Regions from separate parts of the Homo sapiens genome. Here all the other regions are linked to region 4. The links are contacts of gene promoters, found by promoter capture Hi-C in human tissues and cell types (Jung and others, 2019). All regions are on one chromosome and are shown on one strand. Each heading gives the region's core, a stretch centred on a gene start or on the middle of the fragment in contact. The rest is flanking DNA. Distances are from core to core; before and after follow the strand shown.

Region 1 (2,751 bases), core at 154-2,653, 120 kb after region 4:
TATATATATAGAGTCTCAGTCTGTTACCCACGCTGGAGTGCAGTGGTGCAATCTCGGCTTACTGCAACATCCACCTTCTGGGCTCAAGTGATTCTCCTGCCTCAGCCTCCTGATAGCTGGGATTACAGGCACCTGCCACTATGCCTGGCTAATTTTGTATTTTTAGTAAAGACAGGGTTTCGCCATATTGGCCAGGCTGGTCTCACACTCCTCACCTCAGGTGATCCACCTACTTCGGCCTCCCAAAGTGCCTGGATTACAGGTATGAGCCACCGCACTTGGCTTAGCCAGACTTCTTTGAGGACAAATCTCTGTAAAATGGTGGCAGGTCTTGCTTGGTGTGGAGTAAATGTGAAGGAGTAAATAAAAGGCATTTGTACAAATGATGCACTTCAGTATTAATTGTTTAACTCAGCAGATATTTGGTGAGGATTCCCCAAATGCCTGACACATATGACAGAGGAAAAGAGACCTATTCTTGCAAACTGCTCCAACTTTCAGAGGGTGGAACGAAAAGAACCAAAATATTCTGCAACTAAGCAACCAAGTAAACTGGGTGCAGAGAGGAGATGAGCTGGGGCTGATGCCTCAGCAGGAATCTCTGGAATTCCTCTCGCCTGGTGACCTCAGTCACAGAGCAGCGGAGCCACGACCCCTTGGGTGGGCTCCAGGTGGGTCTCAGCCAGGATGAAGAGAGCGGAGCAGACAAACACTCCACTCCCTTCTCCCCAAGGGAGCCAGGCTTTTGCATCCCCAGGCAGCTTCCCGGGGTGAGTGGCCAACGCCTTGAGGTCCCCACCCTGTACCACCCCAGGTTCCAGGGTCCAACTCTGGGAAATCGTGGCATTCTCTGAACCCTTCCTGCTAGTGGGGTGAGGAGGGGGGTGGTTTCTGGCGATAGGGCAAGGGAGGAAAATCATCCTGGGTCTCACGCTCCGTTAGAGGCTGCACTGTGGAGAGAGCAGGGGTCCAGCTCCTGGAGGATCCGGGTTGGATGGGACTCTGCCACTTAGGGGAAGCAGTGAACATTGAGCTAGTGTTGCTGTCGCAAAATGGGATGTGTAACACCCACCTCATCGAATTTCGTGAGAATGAATGAGATCATTAATCATTTATGCAAACTATCTGGAACAGTGATGAAACCCAGAGGCTCCTTTAGTTCCTATTCTCCCTGCCCTGAGGATAAGGACCAAAGCCCTTAGCATGGCTCACAGTGCCTCTCGGAGCTGGCCCCGCCTCCCTGTCTAGCTTCATCTCTGGCTCTCACCTCCCTCGTCTCCAGCCACACTGATGGGCTGAGACTGCCAAGGCCCCAATGGTGCCATGCTTCAGGGCTTGGGCTCCCACCTATGCCTCTCTTTCCAGCAGTGCCCTTCGCCCCAGCTCGCTTGGCAAATGCCTACTTCCCTTATTCAGCTCTGCACAGCAATGCCTGTCCCACGAAGCCTGTCCCATTCCAACCCCCTGCTCAGAGAAAGCGACCAGTGCCTCCTTTGAGCTGTCCCATACCAGGTGCTTCTTCTGTCTTGTGTCTCCTCTCTAGTGTAAGGTGGCAAACAACAGCCTACGGACCAAATCCAAATCACCATCTGATTTTGTAAATAACTTTTTTTTTTTTTTTGAGACGGAGTCTCACTCTGTCACCCAGGCTGGAGTGCAGTGGTGCGATCTCAGCTAACTGTAACCTCTGCCTCCTGGGTTTAAGTGATTCTCCTGCTTCAGCCTCCTGCGTAGCTGGGATTACAGGCACGTGCCAACACTCCCGGCAAATTTTTGCATTTTTAGTAGAGATGGGGTTTCACCATGTTGGCCAGGCTGGTCTCCAACTTCTGACCTCAAGTGATCCACCCACCTCAGCCTCCCAAAGAGCTGGGATTACAGGCGTGAGCCACTGCGTCTGGCCTAGAAATAACATTTTATTAGAACATAGCCACACTCATTGCATAGGGTCCCTGGCTGTTTTCACGTTGCAAGGGCACAACTGTATAGTTACAACAGAGACCACGCTGCCTGTAAAGCCTGCACTATTCACCACCCAGCCCTTCCCAGAAAAGTATTTCCAGCTGCCAGCTCTAGTACTTCCTTGTCTCCTCTCCCTAGACTTCTGAGACATTTGTTCTGAGGGCCAAGAACAAATGTCACTAGCTTCTGCAGCATGCTGCCTGGCCTAGCAGAACCCAGCACTGAGGAGGAGAAGGCTGAGCACGTAATCACATGCGTGTGTTTTCTTCTTTGTCTTTCTCATTCCTAGGGGAGTGAGGGCCCCTCCTGTGGCTTGAATTAGAGGTATAGGGTCTGTTTGATGGAGTCAAGGCTTCCTGGATCCTAGTAAGTAGACCAGAGTGAAACTGTGATGTAAAGCAGCCTCTCTGGATCAGGAAAAGCTCCATCAGGAGAGGTTCCCTCCTGGCACAGTGCTCCTGAGGATGGCCCCCAGGATGCCGCAGAACCAGAGAGAAGACTCTGGGGACAGGAGAACAGCAGGGAAACCTGGCAGAAGTTCTGTTCGAGGAAGTGTTATACAGTCAGATTTTGTAAATGTCAGATCTTGACAAATGATCAAATCAGTTTCTCAGGAAGTGATGATGACATTAAATTGGTTGGGACTTTTTTTTTTTTTTTGTAGAGATGGGATCTACCTATGTTGCCCAGTCTGGCTTCAAACTCCTGAGTTTAAGCAATCCTCCTGCCTCACTCTCTCAAAGTGCTGGGATTACAGGAGTGAGCCACTGCGCCTCTCCCTACCCTTTT
Region 2 (2,700 bases), core at 35-2,534, 99 kb after region 4:
TTCCAGGGCTCAAGCGATTCTTCTGCCTCAGCCTCCCAGGTAGCTGGGAGTAAAGGTGTGTGCCACCATGCCTGGCTAATGTTTGTATTTTTAGTAGAGATTGGGTTTCACCATATTGGCCAGGCTGACCTCGAACTCCTGACCTTGTGATCCACCCACCTCGGCCTCTCAAAGTGCTGGGATTACAGGCATGAGCCACAGTGTCTGGCCCACATTCTGTTTTCAAGGTGTGTGGCAATATAGATTACTTGCTCTTTTTTTTTTTTTTTTTTTTTTTTTTGAGACTGAGTCTTGCTCTGTCGCTCAGGCTGGAGTGCAGTGGAATGATCTTGGCTCACTGCAAACTCTACCTCCCGGGTTCACACCATTCTCCTGCCTCAGCCTCCCAAATAGCTGGGACTACAGGCGTCCACCACCATGCCCGGCTAATGTTTTTGGATTTTTAGTAGAGACAGGGTTTCACTGTGTTAGCCAGGATGGTCTCGATCTCCTGACCTCGTGATCTGCCCGCCTCGGCCTCCCAAAGTGCTGGGATTGCAGGTGTGAGCCACTGTGCCTGGCCCCAATTACTTGCTGTTTCTAAATAAACTTAAGAGACAGGCTTAGAATTAACACTTCTAATAAAGTTGTAACTAACAGGGGAACAAAAAAACCAAAGTGATTCCTCAAAAAAAAAAAAAACAGCATTTGGCTAACAAATTGCCATCTGGTGTCACATGCTTGATTATGAAAGCATCTTGTGCAACCATCTTTAATTTTTCAAATTTTCTTATGTCTAGAGGCTGTATCATAGTTTATGTACAGAACAAGCAAATTTAAGTATTCTGTTAACGTGCAAATGACTTGGGAATGTAAAAATCAGTTTGTTATAAAGGAAAACAGAAATTCAAAAAGATTTTTCCTGGAAGACATATCATCATTCAGTTTACAATCTTGTATTTATAGTTTTAAAAAATTGCCTTTTACGGCCAGGCACGGTGGCTCATGCCTATAATCCCAACACTTTGGGAGGCTGAGCCAGGTGGATCACCTAAGGTCAGGAGTTCGAGACCAGCCTGGCCAACATGGCAAAACCTCCTTTCTACTACAAATACAAAAATTAGCTGTGGGTGGTGCCTGTACTCCCAGCTATTTGGGAGGCTGAGGCAGGAGAATCACTTGAACCTGTGAGGCAGAGGTTACAGTGAGCCAAGATCGTGCCATTGCACTCTAGCCTCGGCAAGAAGAGCAAAACTCCATCTCAAAAAAAAAAAATGAATAAATAAATAAATATATATATATATATATATAAATTGCCTTTTACAAAAATTGGTTGGCTCATTTGAAACCATTCAAAAGAAAGTATTTGTTTTGGAGAAACAAATACACTGTTGTTGGGCCTCAAATTGGTAATTTGTCAATTTTGGATGCTAATTCTAAATACAATATAAAGGAGGTCCAATTTAAAAACACTTTAAATTAGGCTGAGCTGGTGGGGAGAGATACCCACCGGAGGGGATGGGGGCCAAGCAGGTCGGGCCAGGCCACCTGAGGAATGGCAGACGCAGTGGCCCAGAGGGCGGCTAAAGGGAGCGAGAAGGAGATGGGAAGCGGGATGAGGGCCATGCTGTTGGGCTTCGAGGATGGTCACCCCAGGCTCACAGGAGAGGCCCCGTAGCTGTGGCTGCTGACATAAAGCCTCCAGCCAAAGGAACTGTGATGAGTGTTTTTTGATTGATCCATGGACTTTTGGGGCATTAGACTATGAGTCTCTGGATCTTACTTAAAGCATGTGTTTTAGCTTGCTTCCTCTGATACCACTCTGACAGGGGAGGAGGAGCTACCTCATCACAGCCAGATGGGGGTACAGGTCCAGGTGTAATCACCAGATGGATTCTTCTTGTGTGCTGCACAGAAAAAACCAATTCACAGAGACAGCAGTGTTGCAGTAGAGAAAGAGTTTAATTAATTCAAAGCTCGCCAAGCAAAAGGATGGGAGTTTATTACTCAAATAAGTCTCCTGAAGAATTCAGAGGCTAGGGATTTTATGGATAATTTAGCAAGCAGGGGCTAGGGAATGGGTGCTGATGATTGGTAGGGGATGAAATCACAGGGGTGTGAAAAAGAGCCCTCGTGCTAAGTAAGTCTCTGGATGGTGGCCACAGGACTGGGTGAGTCATGACCCTTGGGTCCAGGTGGAGTCAGTTGGTCCCAGAATTAAAAAGCCTGAAAAACATCACAAAACACCAATCTTAGGTTCTACAACAAGGATGTTATCTATAGAAGTGATTGGGGAAGTCACAAATCTCAACGACCTCTGGCTCCGTGACTCCTAACCAGTAAAGGATTATAGGAAAGCCACCTAAGGAACCATGGCTGGTTATCATTTAACTACACCTGCATCTTAGCAAAATTTGGGCCCCTCCCATCATCCTCATCTTGTGGACTTTCATTAGTCTTTCAAAGGCTCTTTCAGTCCCTGAACAAGGAGGGGGTCAGTTTTATGGAGGGGCTATTATCATCCTTGCTTCAAAGTTAAAGTGTAAACTAAATTCCTCCTGTGGCTAGCTTGGCTTACACTCAGGAATGAGTGAGGACAGTCAGCCTGTAAGGCTAGAAGCAAGATGGACCCAGCCAGGCTAGACTTCTCTCACTCTCGTAATTTTTGCAAAGATGATTTCACACGCTCCCCACTCAGCCAATGTTGGTTCTCAAGGGTAG
Region 3 (2,700 bases), core at 121-2,620, 81 kb after region 4:
GATACGGGATTTCTGTAAGACAAGGTATGAAGCAGCTGGGCGCGGTGGCTCAAGTCTGTAATTCCAGCACTTTGGGAGGCCGAGGCGGGCGGATCACCAGGTCAGGAGATCTAGACCATCCTGGCTAACATGGTGAAACCCTGTCTCTATTAAAAATACAAAAAATTAGCCGGGCATGATGGTGGGCGCCTGTAGTCCCAGCTACTCGGGAGGCTGAGGCAGGAGAATGGCGTGAATCCAGGAGGCGGAGGTTGCAGTGAGCAGAGATCGCGCCACTGCACTCCATCCAGCCTGGGCGACAGAGTGAGACTCCGTCTCAAAAAAAAAAAAAAGAAAGAAAGACAAAAACTGAATGGAGCTAGGCATGGTGGCACATGCCTGTAGTCCCAGCTACTCAAGAGGCCAAGGCAAGAGTATTGCTTGAGCCCAGGAGTTCAAGACCAGCTGGGGCAACATAGCAAGACTGTCTCAAAACAAAAATAAAACAAAAAAAACCCTGAATAGATTTAGAAAGTTAGAGAGAGAGAATCTTGTGTGATTAAGTTGGCTAAAATTGAATCAATTTATTATAAGGATCTCAAAAATGAGCCTTAATATCAAAAGTACAATCTAAAACTAGAGTTTCATCTTCTTTCTTAAAATTACAAAGTTTTATTGGAGTATTGGACTTCTCTTGATAAAATACTGTGGAACGTTTTTCTTTACCGTCTATGTAATCTGTGTAGGAAATCTAGAATTTGCTGAGGTGGAAAAAAATCTGCGTCTTATCAGAATAATTTCCTGTGTTTCATGTTGTCTTTTTCAGGTGTTTGATTACTTAAGAAGACTCAGTCTTCTCTGTTAAAAGAGCTAAGCTAAAAAAAAAAAAAAGAAAACTGTATACCTTTCTGTAATTACCTCTGAAATCTTCCAGCGCTTTGGTTAAATGGATAACTGAGTAATGTTTTACAGTGATCTGTGATCCTGTTTAATCAAAAAATTTAGTCTTTTGACTTTTAAAAAAAAAATTGTCCTTTGAAAATTTTTTTTTAGAGATAAGGTCTCCTCCTATGCTGCCCAGGCTGATGTCGAACTCGTGGGCTCAAGTGATCCTCCTGCCTTGGCCTCCCAAAGTGCTGGGATTATAGGCATGAGCCACTGAGCCCAGCCGTCTTTTGGCATTTTTGACAACTTTGAAAAATCAAACTCTACATGAAGTGTTTTTGACCTTGAGCTAACTTTGGAATTTTCCTGAAGGCCCCTAAAAAGTCACAAAGGACTTGTCTTTCTTCTTTTTTATTTATTATTAATTTTTTTTTTTTGAGATGGAGTCTCGCTCTGTTGCCAGGCTGGAGTGCAGTGGCGCGATCTTGGCTCACTGTAACCTCCACCTCCGGGTTCAAGAGATTCTCCTGCCTCAGCCTCCCAAGTAGCTGGGACTACAGGCGCGTGCCACCACACCCAGCTAATTTTTGTATTTTTAGTAGAGATGGGGTTTCACCATGTTGGCCAAGATGGTCTCAATTGGTTGACCTCGTGATCCGCCTGCCTCGGCCTCCCAAAGTGCTGGGATTATAGGCATAAGCCACTGCACCCGGCCTTGTCTTTCTTCTTATAAAAACAAACTTGTTAAATTAATTTGGTACGTTAAATTACATGGGAAGCATTGTTAAAAAAGAAGTGATACTAAAGCTTCTTTATGTCATATTTGTATGTATTTATGTGTTCCAGAAATTGCATGAAGTTATAATGTTGTCAGTTATAATTCTAGTTATTATCTTAAAATGTATGTGACAGAAGTAACTGAATTTTTTTCTCAATTGTATTACAATTAATTCTCATCCTTTAACCATGACCATTTGAAGTCTTTTGTCATCCACAGACAGTTAATTGTTTTATTTTGATGCATTCCTAAAAGCTTTTGCAAACAACTATAATATGAACCACCATGCTTATGTGGTTTCTTTGCATGGCTGCTGTGCTGATGAGTAAGAAAAGTCATTTCCTGGTAGGCCCAGGAACCTCAAGAAAGTGCATTTGTATTTAAGGAGATTCATGGAGAAAACGGACAAGTACACGTTCCTGATGACTTTAAGATCATACCGTTCAACTTCCAGAACACTAATGGAAAAACTGACTCATTCATGAAATTGCTAACCAAAGATCAAGCAGAACAAGAATTAATTACATCAGACTAGATGACCCAATGAAGATGATTTAAATTATTTTTAATTATTATTATTTTTTTTGAGATGGAGTTTTGCTCTTGTTGCCCAGGTTGGAGTGCAATGGCACAATCTTGGCTCACTGCCACCTCTGCCTCTCGGGTTCAAGTGATTCTCCTGCCTCAGCCACTTGAGTAGCTTGGATTACAGGCGCATGCCACCACCCACAGCTATTTTTTTTTTTTTTTTGTATTTTTGGTAGAAACGGGGTTTCACTATGTTGGCCAGGCTGGTCTCAAACTTCTCACCTCAGGCTATCCACCTGCCTCAGCCTCCCAAACTGCTGGGATTACAGGCATGAGCCACCACGCCCGACTGATGATTATAATTCTTATGACTTCTTGTTTTAGGACATTTCTGGGTCTTTAATGGCTTTTCTCTTTTTTTCTTAAGCTAACTAAAATTTACAGCAATCAGGTAAATTATACCTTCGTAAACAGAATTGAAACATTTATCCTTTTTTCTCTACCTGATCCCTGTAGAATTCAGAAACTCT
Region 4 (2,700 bases), core at 70-2,569:
GACCATTTGAGTTTAGGAGTTGGAGATCAGCCTGGGCAACATAGCAAAACCCGGTCTCTACAAAAAAAAAAAGAAAAAAAAAGAAAGAAAAAAAAATTAGCTGGGTGTGGTGGCGTGCGCCTGTAGTAGTCCCAGCCACTCAGGAGGCTGAGATGGGAAGATCACTTGAGGCTGGAAGGTTGAAGCTGCAATGAGCCATGATCATACCACAGCGAGACCCCGTCTCAAATAAAAATAAATAAATAAATAAATATAGGCTAAGGAGTAGAAGCAGGTGGATGTGGAAAGAATGAATAGGATAAGGCCCCTGGTGAGATGAACAAGGACAGGATCCCATGAACAAGGAACAAGGATCAGGATCAGGATCCCACAGGATCAACTTTAGACCAACCAAAAGAAAAAATGTGATTCCTTGAACCACATATATTTCACAGTATGGACTTCATCCGCTGTCTTTCATTACGGTTAAAATTACACCGCATTTCTAGTAATTCATGTTTGATGATGACAAAATACGTATCAGGCTACAGCTATCTGCAATCAGAATTGGGAACTTATCTGAACTGATCCTATAACGCACTGCCCACATTCTTCAAGAAATAGTAAGGTACCAGCCTCGATTCTTGCTTTTTCCCGCTCTTGCAGATGGACCAAATATCCACTGGGCCCTCAGTCCTGTTAATTGCCACACTAAACAGGGTATCCCAGAACGTATGCTACCCGAGAATGCTGCACTGTCCCACCTGTAAGCATTGTACTTGTGGATAGCTTGGCTCACGTTCTTCTCAAAGTTTGCGAGTTCTGAAAGGCAACAGAAGGCTCGGGTGAACAAGAACCACGAGTAAACAAACGAGAACTGTTTTCTGGAAGGGGATATGGCAGCCTCTAAGAGACAGTGACCACCCGTTTCCTCCAAGGGCCAGACCAAAAGCAGCCCAAGCGATGGCCCAGGTGTAGCCGGCAGGACTGACAACCAGCCAGGGGCGCCGGAGGGAGATCCCCACGGAAGACGACCCGCTGCAAGGAACCTACCCTACCCACTGGACTGTCGGTGTGGGAGAGAAGGAAGGCAGGGGAAGAGGCTGGAAGGAAAGAAGAAAGCCAGCGGGGCCCGGCCCGGTGCTAACCTGTGAGCATGTCGGTGATTCCCCCGTTGAGAGTCTCCTGCGGCGCCTTCCGTTTGCTCATGGCGGCCTGCACCCGAGAACCCCAGAGTGTTCAGAACCAGGGACTAGAGCCCTCTCCCAGCTTGAAGGAGGTACCAGGACTTGGAGACGGGAGCAGGAGCAACCCAGCTCCGGCGCGACCGGCGGAACAATGGTTGCCCCCGATGGGGGGCGGGGCGCACGGCGCTTGTTGTGACGTCACGCGTCCTGGGCGGGGCGGGGCGGGGCTAGAGGGGCGAGCCCTCGGCAGGTGAGGAGAGAGAACTCGGAGGGTTCGTGGACTCGTGGACGTGGACACGGCGCGGGGGAAATAGGCACCTCAGAATGACAGCCCAGGGGCCTTCCTATGGGAAGACCTGGAGTTTTGACCTAAGATATTAAATCTGTTTTCTCAGTGTTTATCTGGAATCCTTTCCCTAGAAGGGGAAACGGGAGTGCGATCTTGATTCTGAAATACTTGCGCTGGTGGGGTAGCTTCCTGCACAAAAATGTGCACTGTAATAGCTACCCAATGCATGGCGCGTTTTGTACGTGGTTAGAGGCGACACTGGCGTCACACTGTCAAAACTTTCTCTAAGGATACCGGGCAGTCCACACTCCAGTGCAGCCCCTTACGTACTAGGGCGCTGCCGGAGCCCGGCGTGAACCATGCCGAGAACAGGAATCCTCCCGCACACGTGTTAGTACACCTGCCAACCAGTGTCAAAAGATATTTTATTTTTAATCCCCCTGCCTTTGCGGTAGGGACCAAATTAATGAAGAGACCACAAGAAAGGGAGAAGTGTTTCATCTAGATCATGAGCAATGGAACCCTAATTATAACATGATGACCTACATCTGAGAAATTTACAGTCTGCTTGAGAAATGGAAATGTCACATCAGCAATAGTTTATTTTACAAGCGTAACTCCTGGGTTCATATCGAACTGCAATTCCAGGCAATTGCTTTGTGCATCGAAAAATTAAAATTTATTACAAAATGATACGTAGTTGCTGTAGAGAAATCTGGAAAAATGTATAAAAGGAGAAAATTAAAATCAGTGATCTCACCCTACAGCTGAACTATTAATATTTTGGGACGTACACTTCTAGTCTTCTAACCCAGTCTATTAAAAATTCCCATTATTTTCCAATAAATATCATTAGTTTCTTTGATTAGCAAGGTTGTGGTGATTGTGTTTCCTTACAATATCAGTGTATATCTTAAGTTATGCTTATTGGAAATCTGTAATTCTTCTTTTTTTGAATTTCCTATTCATATCATTTACCATTTTCCTAATGGGGGTAGTTTGTTACTAATCTGGTAGATCTTTTCTATATATTACTACTTGCCCTTTTATGGATAGCTTTTGTAAAAATTTTGTACATATTTGTATTTTCCTCAATTTATTACTTGAGGAATAAAAGTTAAAAAAACTTTATGCCTGCAACTTAACTATCTGATTAGTTAAGCTGCAGTGAGCAGTGACCACTCTCATTTACTCTTTATACTCTCATTTACATATATGACTTGTCCTAGTTTTCCCTGTTCACAC

What was found. Contacts are between HindIII fragments. The study calls those that stand out against the background at their distance.
Region 1: a fragment that was not itself captured here is called in contact with the fragment with the promoter of POLB in region 4 in 5 of the 25 tissues and cell types used here (adrenal gland, mesenchymal stem cells, neural progenitor cells and 2 more).
Region 2: a fragment that was not itself captured here is called in contact with the fragment with the promoter of POLB in region 4 in 2 of the 25 tissues and cell types used here (IMR-90 fibroblasts and neural progenitor cells).
Region 3: a fragment that was not itself captured here is called in contact with the fragment with the promoter of POLB in region 4 in 3 of the 25 tissues and cell types used here (adrenal gland, aorta and mesenchymal stem cells).

The regions. Positions count from the first base shown.
Region 1 is chr8:42,220,050-42,222,800 of GRCh38, reverse strand. No RefSeq gene overlaps it. Among named protein-coding and RNA genes, the nearest start is that of PLAT, 14 kb to the right of the region's middle. The HindIII fragment of the contact is 9,124 bases long and covers 1-2,751 here.
Region 2 is chr8:42,238,205-42,240,904 of GRCh38, reverse strand. It overlaps a transcript of IKBKB-DT not described here. Among named protein-coding and RNA genes, the nearest start is that of IKBKB-DT, 32 kb to the left of the region's middle. The HindIII fragment of the contact is 4,316 bases long and covers 1-2,700 here.
Region 3 is chr8:42,256,101-42,258,800 of GRCh38, reverse strand. All of the region lies in intron 3 of IKBKB-DT (IKBKB divergent transcript), which reads left to right. Among named protein-coding and RNA genes, the nearest start is that of IKBKB-DT, 14 kb to the left of the region's middle. The HindIII fragment of the contact is 5,944 bases long and covers 1-2,700 here.
Region 4 is chr8:42,337,113-42,339,812 of GRCh38, reverse strand. POLB (DNA polymerase beta) reads right to left here and starts at 1,319. Exons shown (of 14, transcript NM_002690.3): 1 at 1,128-1,319; 2 at 744-801. The coding sequence starts at 1,188. The HindIII fragment of the contact is 25,945 bases long and covers 1-2,700 here.